Regions from separate parts of the Homo sapiens genome. Here regions 2 and 3 are each linked to region 1. Evidence: promoter capture Hi-C in human tissues and cell types (Jung and others, 2019). All regions are on one chromosome and are shown on one strand. Each heading gives the region's core, a stretch centred on a gene start or on the middle of the fragment in contact. The rest is flanking DNA. Distances are from core to core; before and after follow the strand shown. Region 1 holds the start of ASAP1 (ArfGAP with SH3 domain, ankyrin repeat and PH domain 1). Region 2 overlaps ASAP1 (ArfGAP with SH3 domain, ankyrin repeat and PH domain 1). Region 3 overlaps ASAP1 (ArfGAP with SH3 domain, ankyrin repeat and PH domain 1).

Region 1 (3,455 bases), core at 601-3,100:
TGTTTGCTTCTTTCATTTATTCAACACGTGTTTATCGATGGTCTCATATGGGCCAGCACTGTTCTAAGGAAACAGGCAAAGGTACTGCTGTAATGCAGTTTACCCATGCAGTGGGGAGAGTGGGGGGCAGATAAAAAATAAGCAACCAATCATGTAGGCTACATTAAACAGTGACAAGGGCTATGAAGCAATCAAACAGGATGCGCTATGTTTGGGAGAGGTGGAGGTGGGGTGTAGGTGCCAGAGACAAGCAGATCACATGGTTGGGGAAAACCTATCTGCGGAGCTGACTTCTGGGCTGTGAGCTGCGTGCCAAGAACAGCCATACAAGGGTTCTTCCAGGCAGAGGGGACGGCAGCTACAGTGGGCCTGGAGCAGGACCCTGGGACTCCTGGTGCCCAGCTCAGAGCTGTCCTACTGCTTCTGGCCACGGAGAGAGAATTGCAGAAAAGGAACAATGCTGGGTCTAAAACTGGTATCTGTTCCTTACTTGGAGTAAACGAGCTGGTACCCAACTTTCAGTTCCCAGCAGGTTCATTTCAGGCTTCTGTTTTCGCTCATGAGCATGTTGTTCCCTCTTCAAAGTCTGATTGGGTTTCAAAGGAATCTGAAACACTTACAGCAAAACCACCAAGCTGCATCCTCCAGGTAGACACCCCCGAAATGTGGCATTTCCGTGGGAAACCACAATGAATCACTCATTGGCTGCCCGACCTCTCTGCCCAGTCAGAGATTGATTTTGGTTTTCCCAAACTTTGTAAATCCGCTCCAGACTGTTTAACAACCCCCACTCCCCACTACACCCAGACTCTCAGATTAGGAGCAAAATCCCAAATTTTGTGAGGTTTTCTGTTTCGGATTTCACCAGAAGGGGGTCTGCCACAGCCACTAACCATTTCCTCTGCAGAGAGCCGTTTCTGAAATGCTGCAAAGAAAAACAATCACCCAATGATTAGGAGGGAAATTAAGTTCTAAAGAAAGACTACTGTCTCTGACTTTGAAAGTAGACATAGATATGCACAATATACATCCCACAAATTAAAATCCTCCTTTCTCTGATGTCTTTTAATGGTAATAATAAGGACAAGCATGGCTATCATTTATTTGGGCGTTTCCAATGTGCCAGTCCCTGTCTAAACATTCAGCTTCCAGATCAAACCTATGAGGGTGGAATTAACATCCATTTCATAAATGGAAACTGAGGCTCAGGAAAGTTGAGCGAGTTACTCAAGGTAACATGAGTAGAAAAAAGGCCATATTCCAACCGGACACAGAGCCTGCAGCCCACACAATTACTCTCCATACTGTTCCTATACTATCCTGACTGGGAAGGTCCTGTTCCCTTGGCACTGGGCAAAAATAAAATTATAAGAGCAGAGAGGAAGTGGTGAAAGGGGGCAGCCTGGTGAAATCATTCCTTTACTGAAAATAGGGGTAACGGCCAGGACAGTGCAGGTCCATCCTCTGCAGATGGAAGACAGGCACGTCCTTTGCCGCTGTCCCGGCCTTAGAAAGGCACCTTCCGCGTCCAGGGTTTTCTGTGGATAAATCCCACCCCTTCCACCTCAGGCGGGGAGGAGGCCGGCCGGCCGGGGCATGGGGCGGAAGGCGAAGGACGCCCGACCCCGGCCGAGGTCTGGGGCCCCTCCCACGCCCCCCTCGTGGCTGCCGGCGGGCCAAGGGTTAAGCGAGGCGGGAGCCCCCGGCGCGGAGCGGCTCGGGGCCGGGAATGCTTAGTCAGGATTCCGATTTCCTGTCGAAGTGTTTGGATTTCCTGAAACCCGCGCCCTCCGCCGCCGAGCGGGATCGTGCGAGCCGCTCGCGTCGCCGCGGCCTCCTCCCCCTCGGCACATGGTCGCCCGCCCCTTCCTGCGCCGCGCTCGGCTCCCGCGCCTCGCCTGGCCTGGCCGCTGCCGCGGGCGAGCACTGTGCGCTGGGCAGCCCCGGGCCCGCGCCTCCCGCCCAGCCGGCGCTTCCCGGTCGCAGTTCGCTTTCCCACCCGAGAGCCGCGAGCGCCCGGCCGAACCCGCGATGGAATAATGCCCAGCGGCCCGCCAGGTCCCGGTGAGTTGCGGGGCGCTCGGGCGCGCTCGGCGGGGCCGGGCGGAGTCGCCCACAGTCGCGGGCGCCCCCTGCCCAGTCTCTCGCGCGAAGAAGGGCGCCGGGACGGGGCGCGGGGCGGGCTCCCGGCTCCTCTCGCAGCGGGGTGTCCTTCTCCGCGGGGAGGGCGCCGGCCCTGGGCTGGGGCGTGTGCGGGACGCGCGGCCAGGCTCTGCGGGGCCGGGCGAGGCCGCCCGGTGGGGGGGGGAGGTCTCCTCGCCTCCAGCTCGGGAGAGGGGGCCCCTGCAGTGGGGCCGGGGACGGGGCCCGCCCTGGGGGGTTTCGCGTCCCCCTCCGGGGGAGGGCCCGGGACGACGTGCTTGGCGGCCCGGACCCCGCCGATGGGGCGCCCTCCCGGCATTGTCTCTGGTGCAGCCGAGGAAAGTTCCCCGCGGCCCCCGGCCCCTACCCGGACCCGGCGCTGCTTGGCAGGCCCCAGGCCACTTGCCTAAAGCAAAAGAAGAGAAACGAAAGGGAAGGGGGTGGGGGGAGTCCTACTTGGAGCTTGGGGTTGGCTCCTGGGCGGACCGTGAAGTGGCTTGTGTTTTCTGCTTGTACCATTTTGGGACCTGCTGCGTTTTCTGAGAGCGACATGAAGTTTCAAAGAAAAAAGAAACTTGCCGGTGTCCGGTTTTCTGCGGTTTGATACATCCCAAGAGGTTCATCTTGGGCACTTCTAAAGCAGTTTCCTTTAATAATGTGGTTTTCCAGTAGCTCAGGGAGAAGGATGGTCAACTGCAGACCATCATCGTTAACTTGACCTCAACTTTACCTGTACTCGTCAGGAAAGCAAAAGAACTTTCTCTCGCATTTTCCCCTGTCTACTCTGTTAGGTTATCTTGGCGTGATTGATTCTGGGATGACATCAGGACCTGGATTGCTGAGTAATGTTTTGGGATTGTAAAAGCTTATCAGTTTTTAGGCCAGGGTTATCTGTATTGCAACCTTCATCCCAAAGCCTTTCTGTTTTGCAATTGTAGCGCGGCCAGATAGCTTTAAGAAAATGCGGGTCTTCTGGAAACACCCAGTGAACAGTTTGGAAAGAAAAAGATCTTTGAGAACAACTGATTCACCCCCTTCAGAGAAGGCCCAGAAAGGTGACCTGACTTGCCCAAGATCACATGGCCAGGAGTAGTTTCCACTTCTTCAGGCTCAGTCCCATGCCCCTTCTGTGTTAGATTTTGATCTGTTAGCCATGAAACAGATTTGGAAACGTCTTCTTTGCGTCACAGCCTTCACCACTTTAGTGCCTTCTCTTCTGTCCTGTTAATGCTGCTATTTTTGAGATATGCACTTATTTCAAACTGCATATTTTGAGATAGGGAGTTAAAAAAAACAAAAATCACCTAACGCCA
Region 2 (3,179 bases), core at 404-2,903, 40 kb after region 1:
TTGTGGTTGATTGGGATCTGCTCCACATGTCTTTGATCTGAGTTCAGACTAAAAGGCAGCAACAGACAGCGGCTATGGAGACATATTCCTTTTGTGGTGCATCATAAGAGGGCAAGAGGAATAGACTTGGGAACAGCACACTGTCACTTCTAGCCACATTCCATTGGCTACAGCAAGTCAGTGATCCAGTCCAGAATCCAGTGGGACAGGGAAGTAAACACCATTCACTCTAGTGGGAAGTACTACAAAGTCCCATGACAAAGGGCAGAAATGTGTAGTTCACAGTCATGTTGGAAGTGAACTGGGAAGACTCATGCAGTCTACCATACTAACTCAGCTGCTCCACTTGGGTGAAGCAAGGAAAGCAAAAGAATAATAAACTGAGGAGCAGGCTGGGAGAGGCATTGACTATGTATGCAAGTAACAGATACTTATTTTTCATAAGCGTGTGCTTAGTAAAGTTGGGTTCTGGAGGTCAATATTATAGGAAGATCATGATCTTTGATTCTGAAGGATAGCATATGTTTATCCTTATGCCAGTACCACACTGTCCTGATTTCTTTCAAAGTCAGGAAATAGAAGTCCAACATTGTTCTTCATTTTCAAGATTGTTTTGGCTATCCTGAGTCCATTGCATTTCCATATGCATTTTAAGATAAGCTTGTCAGTTCCCCATCTAATTTAAATTTGTGATTCAGTGCTCAGGAAGATTCAATTGCTGTTGGCATCTAAGTTTGAAGGAAATGGTTTGATCGTTTATCCAACAAATATTTATTAATATTGTTGTGCCGGGCATTGTAGAGTTGGTGCTGCAACATACACCAATAAACAAATCCAAACACAATCTTTGTATCCACATGGCTTACAATTGAAGAAAATTAGCAGATATTAATCAGTCTTCACGTTGAAACATAATTAAAAACTGAGATAAATTCCATGATCTAATCTGAAGATGCAGAGTTTCTCTGAGAATATAATATTTAAGGAAGTACAGGAGTTACCTAGGCACTGAAGATGAGAGAGGAAGCCTTCCAGACAGAGAGAACAACATGGGCAAAGGACCTGTGGTGGAACAACTGCAGCATGTTCCAGGATCTAAGAAAATGTCCAATGGGCCGGGCACAGAGGCTCACACCTGTAATCCCAGCACTTTGGGAGGCCAAGGTGGGCAGATCACCTGAGGTCAGGAGTTCGAGACCAGCCTGCTCGACATGGCGAAACCCTGTCTCTACTAAAAATGCAAAAAAGTAGCTGGGCGTGGTGGCGGACACCTGTAATCCCAGCTACTTGGGAGGCTGAGGGAGGAGAATCAATTGAACCCAGGAGGTGGAGGTTGCAATGAGCCAAGATCGCGCCACTGCACTCCAGTCTGGGCAACGAGTGAAACTGTCTCACAAAAAAAAAAAAAAAAAGAAAAAGAAAAAGAAAATGTCTTATGGCTACAGCATTGTGCCTGGTAGACAGGATAAGGTCAGAGAGGTGAACAAGAGTCAGAACATGTTCAGTGATTTGGATTTTTATTCTAAAGCACTGAGAAGCTGTTGAGGGATGTTAAGCTAGTGGTGGAGAGTTGAGGGATGACACAATCAAATTTGTGTTTTCAAAATTGTATTCTTCATATCACTCAATTGTTAAGTGTCAGTCTTATTTGGATCTGGGTTTTTTAAAAAAAAACACTTGTTAAAGACACCATTTTTGACATTTATGAGACTATTAGGAATTTGAACACTGTGTGAATATTTGATGATATCAAGGAATTATTGCTATCTTTTTAAGGTATGGTAGTGGTTTTACAGTGTTATTTTTTTCCAAAGACCTTATCTTAGAAATCCATGCGGTAATATTTATGACTGAAATGATAAGATGACTGGAAATTTCCTCAAAATAATAATGCACGGGCAGGAAGGTTGAGGGTTTGGATGTGGTGGGTATGATTATGGGTTAATGTGATTAGACTGGCTGGTGGGTTCAGGGGGTATATGATACACTTCTCTGTTTTTATGTCTGTACACAATTCCCTGTAATAAAAGATTAAAAAAAAAAAAACCCCACAAAAGATTATTCTGCTTTCAGCATGGAAGACTAGATTTCAGAGGGAGAAATGGTGATGAGGGGAGATCAGTTAGGAGGCAGCTGCAGTGGCCCAGGTAAGAATGATGGAGGCTTGGTCCAGAGCTGGACCAGTGGAGGTGGGGAGAGATAAGTGGAGAGATCTTTAGGAAGTAAAGTAGACATGAATTGGGGATGGATTGGATATGGGGGTGAGGGAGATGGTGGAACTGAGATGTCTCTCGGTTTTTCGCCCTGGATGGAGATGCCACATTGAGCTAGGAATCACTGGATAAAAGCCAAGGAGGTCCCTTGGCTCAATTTATTTTTATATCCCCACCTCTGTTTCCCTCTATTCTGCAAATATTGAAGCTGTTCCCTTATGTAACATCTTTTATCCCAGACTTCCTGTGCTCTGTGCACTCAGCAATTAATTAAGCTTTGGTATGCATGAATTAATTAAAATCCTCTCCCAGGTTCAGAGGGGCTGTCCTGAAATATGTATATTCTTCTATATCTGCCTTCTTCCTGCAACTGGTTTCCTTTGCCGGGTGAACACTTTTGCTTTCTCGTGGGCACCCAGCTGCAGGTGTCTGTCTGTCTGTCTGTCGCATCCATCAGCACACTTTAATTTTATGTTTAGGAGCCTAGGTCTAGAGAAGTTAATGACTTGTAAATTGCTCTCCAACGTAGAGCTAGAAATAGAATGCCAGAAGGATTCCTGAGCACTTACTTGCACAGAGATTCAATGATGGAGGTATCAGCCCCACCATAGGAAGCTGAAATAGTAGTTTCCTTCATATTTCTGGACAGCCACTCTGTGGTGCAAGAACATTCCTGACAAAGGTGCAGCCTCCATATGAAATCCGATCTTGGTCTGAGACAATGTCTTCTGCCCAGTTTCACCGGATGACTCTTGTCCCCTTTTTGTCCTGCCCCCTATCCAGGTCGTTTTCTGATGTGACGGCTGAGACATGAGATCTTCAGCCTCCAGGCTCTCCAGTTTTTCGTCGAGAGATTCACTATGGAATCGGTGAGTGATCTCTAGCCCATCCTGTCCAGAAAACTCGGCGTGGGAGATACAGCGGGATTCTTCTTGGGAGTTGAAATGCAAAATTTTATCAAACACA
Region 3 (2,979 bases), core at 126-2,625, 58 kb after region 1:
TGGAGTGCAGTGGTGTAATCTTGGCTCATTGCAACCTCCACCTCCTGGGTCCAAGTGATTCTCCTGCCTCAGCCTCCCAAGTAAGTGGGATTACAGGCGAGCGCCACCATGCTCAGCTAATTTTTGTATTTTGAGTAGGGACGAGGTTTTGCCATGTTACCCAGCCTGGTCTCAAACTCCTGATCTCAAGTGATCTGCCCACCTCGGCCTCCCCAAATGCCGGGATTACAGGTGTGAGCCACCACTTTCGCCGGACCTGGGTTTTTTAATGGGCCTTGGTCTCCATTTTCACATTTCTTCTTCCTGGGTCATCCAGAGTGTTAGGATTTACTGAGATTCTCTTAAGAAAAACAGCAGCCTTGGATACCCAATTCATATGAAAGCAGGTTTGATTTCGGTTTAAAATGGAAACTGTGAGCTAATGCATTTTACAGATTTGAGGAGAGAACAATTTTCTCTGTTTTTAAGAAAATAAAGAACAAAACGTGGGATAACTTTTTGTGAGTCACCATAGTGCCACAAGCTCCTGAAAGGGGTTCTCTGCAAATATTTGGGGTTTGGTGCTTATAAACAGCTACAAAGGTTTTCTTGAGCGTTGGTAACCACGGCAACAAGGACGTCACTTCCACGGTGCAAACATGCTTGCCAAGCTGAAGTGTGGAGTGACAGTTTTTGGCTGAGCCATGAACCTAAAAGTGGAGGTTTACAAAGTTACTGCAGACAGGTCATTAGCACGACTGGCTGCAGTGAGCTCCCTAAGTCTTCATCGCTCCTGCCTTTTCATCAGCAGCGAGATAATTGACTGTTAGACTCCCGAGCCACAGACCACGGCAGAGGTGAGTCCGCTTCTAACTGTTTCTGCAGAGTGAGGTACAGTTGTCAGAAGTTCCCAAACAATGTGAGTTTGGTAAGAGGAGACTGGAAATGGAGTTTTCACCAGTAAAGCGACGCGTGGCGATTGTGTATCTACAGGGTGGAGAGCGCAGCGCTTAGCCCTGTGTCGACAGCCCTGTGGGCTGAGGCCACAGTCTGAATTTGCTGTGCCCAGCTGTGTTTTTTCATCAGGACAGGGTGTGGGAGCGGGGGCAGGCAGAGCTTCAAGCTATGGACTCGGCAATGGAACGTGTTACCTCCGTGGTCAGCACAGTTTTAGTTTTGGGTGATAGAAACCCAATTCAGGTTGCCTTAAGCAAGAAGGGAATGTACTGGCTTAGGTAAGAGAGGAGTCCAGGGGTAAAACCTGGCCCCAGAAATGACTGGATTCCTAGATTTGGTCTCTCCCTTTTCTCTGCATCACCACTGAATCTCTCGCCCCCTTCCTCTCTAGTGCTTTCTCCTCCACTGGCTGTATTCTCAGGTTCTCCAAGTATGGTTTCCAGAAGCATCGGTCCTAAAGCCACCGGTTTAAAGACCCCACCAGGTAGAGAGCTCTTCTTCCCAGAAGATTTTGCAAAATCTCTGGATTGATTCCCGTTGGTCTATCTTGGGTCACGTGGTCAGCCCTGTACCAGTCACTGTGGACAAGGCCATGGACTATTCTGATTGGACAAGCCCATGTCACCTGATCATTCCCAGACTTCAGGGAGAGGTTGAAAGTGAGACCCACAGGAACCAAAGGATGTGGGGGGACTCCCCAGTGGGAATTTGAAATGCATTCACCGGCAGGAGTACTGGGTGCTCGGGAAGTAAAACCGCAAATGCCCACCCCTCTAACCAAGTAACTGGATGTAGGGAGAGTTAGTAGCTCAAGTTCGAATCAGCTTCCTTAGCGGGCTGTTGAAGAGCCTCTGTTGGGAGAGTGATGTCAGCAACATGGCAGAAGAGAAGCTCCTGACTCTCCCTCCACTCGTGGACACACCAAATAAACATCCATTCACCAATCACTTCCCTCTGAGAGAGTCAGAGACCAGTTGAGATTCCTACCCACCTGGTAACTGAGAAAACATCCCCATGTAACGGGTCGGAAAAGCTGAGACTCTCTTGGGCACGCCCCCACCTCGGGCGCTGAGCCACAAAATTGGGAAAGGAATCTCTAGCACCCAGCATCTCCCCATGGAGAGGAGGCTTTGGGCCTCACAAGGCCCGCCCTAACTCTAAGGTGCCCCACGGTTGGCTCTTAATTCACCAACTCTGGGGCTGAGGGAATTAGACACACTCAAGTCTCTGTTCTGCTTTGGCTCTATTTTATTTATTTATTTATTTTAGTGGAGACGGGGTTTCACCATGTTGGCCAGGCTGGTCTGGAACTCCTGACCTCAAGTGATCCGCCCACCTCAGCCTCCCAAACTGCTGGGATTACAGGCGTGAGCCACCACACCCGGCCTGCCTTGGCTCTTTTAAATGAACCTCAAGCGACCACCAGCTAGCAACGTGCCTTCTGCCTCTGGGATTGCTCCAGGCCATGTCTGTGTAGTAGAAGGAGGTGATGTTTCCCATTCCCCTCTTGTAGCTCCTTGTTCAAGCTCATCCTGTTAGATCAAAGACAATATTTGGACCTCAAGCCCCGGCCTCCATAGAGCCATGGTGTGTGTATGTACGTGGGACACTGTCTCGCTTTTATTTATGTTCAGTCTCTGCCTCTCTCACTAGATTATAACTTCCAGGAGGGCGGGGGTCATCTCGGCCTTGCTCACCACAGTGCATAGCTTGGAGGATGTAGTGGACAGTCAGTAAATGTTTGTTGAAAGAACAAATTACAGGACAATGGGGAGTCATTGAGGGATGTGAAGTGTGACAGGGTAACTTGCCCAACATTCCCCAGATAATAAAAGACACTATCAGTGGATCACCTGAGGTCAGGAGTTCAAGATCAGCCTGGGCAACATGGTGAAACCCCATCTCTACTAAAAATACAAAACATTAGCCGGGCATGGTGGCGGGCGCCTGTGTAATCCCAGCTACTCGGGAGGCCAAGGCTCAAGAATCACTTGAACCGGCGAGGGGGAGGTTGCAGTGAGCCAAGATAGCGCCATTGCACTC

The links. Contacts are between HindIII fragments. The study calls those that stand out against the background at their distance.
Region 2: a contact is called between a fragment that was not itself captured here and the fragment with the promoter of ASAP1 in region 1, in 4 of the 25 tissues and cell types used here (IMR-90 fibroblasts, hippocampus, mesenchymal stem cells and 1 more).
Region 3: a contact is called between a fragment that was not itself captured here and the fragment with the promoter of ASAP1 in region 1, in 1 of the 25 tissues and cell types used here (IMR-90 fibroblasts).

The regions. Positions count from the first base shown.
Region 1 is chr8:130,442,069-130,445,523 of GRCh38, reverse strand. ASAP1 (ArfGAP with SH3 domain, ankyrin repeat and PH domain 1) reads left to right here and starts at 1,850. Exons shown (of 30, transcript NM_018482.4): 1 at 1,850-2,064. RefSeq lists silencers at 1,766-1,865, 1,906-1,995, 2,006-2,165, 2,216-2,295. The HindIII fragment of the contact is 10,997 bases long and covers 1-3,380 here.
Region 2 is chr8:130,401,788-130,404,966 of GRCh38, reverse strand. ASAP1 (ArfGAP with SH3 domain, ankyrin repeat and PH domain 1) reads left to right here. Exons shown (of 30, transcript NM_018482.4): 2 at 2,997-3,082. The coding sequence starts at 3,024. Among named protein-coding and RNA genes, the nearest start is that of ASAP1, 40 kb to the left of the region's middle. The HindIII fragment of the contact is 4,629 bases long and covers 1-3,179 here.
Region 3 is chr8:130,384,528-130,387,506 of GRCh38, reverse strand. All of the region lies in intron 2 of ASAP1 (ArfGAP with SH3 domain, ankyrin repeat and PH domain 1), which reads left to right. Among named protein-coding and RNA genes, the nearest start is that of ASAP1, 58 kb to the left of the region's middle. The HindIII fragment of the contact is 6,426 bases long and covers 1-2,979 here.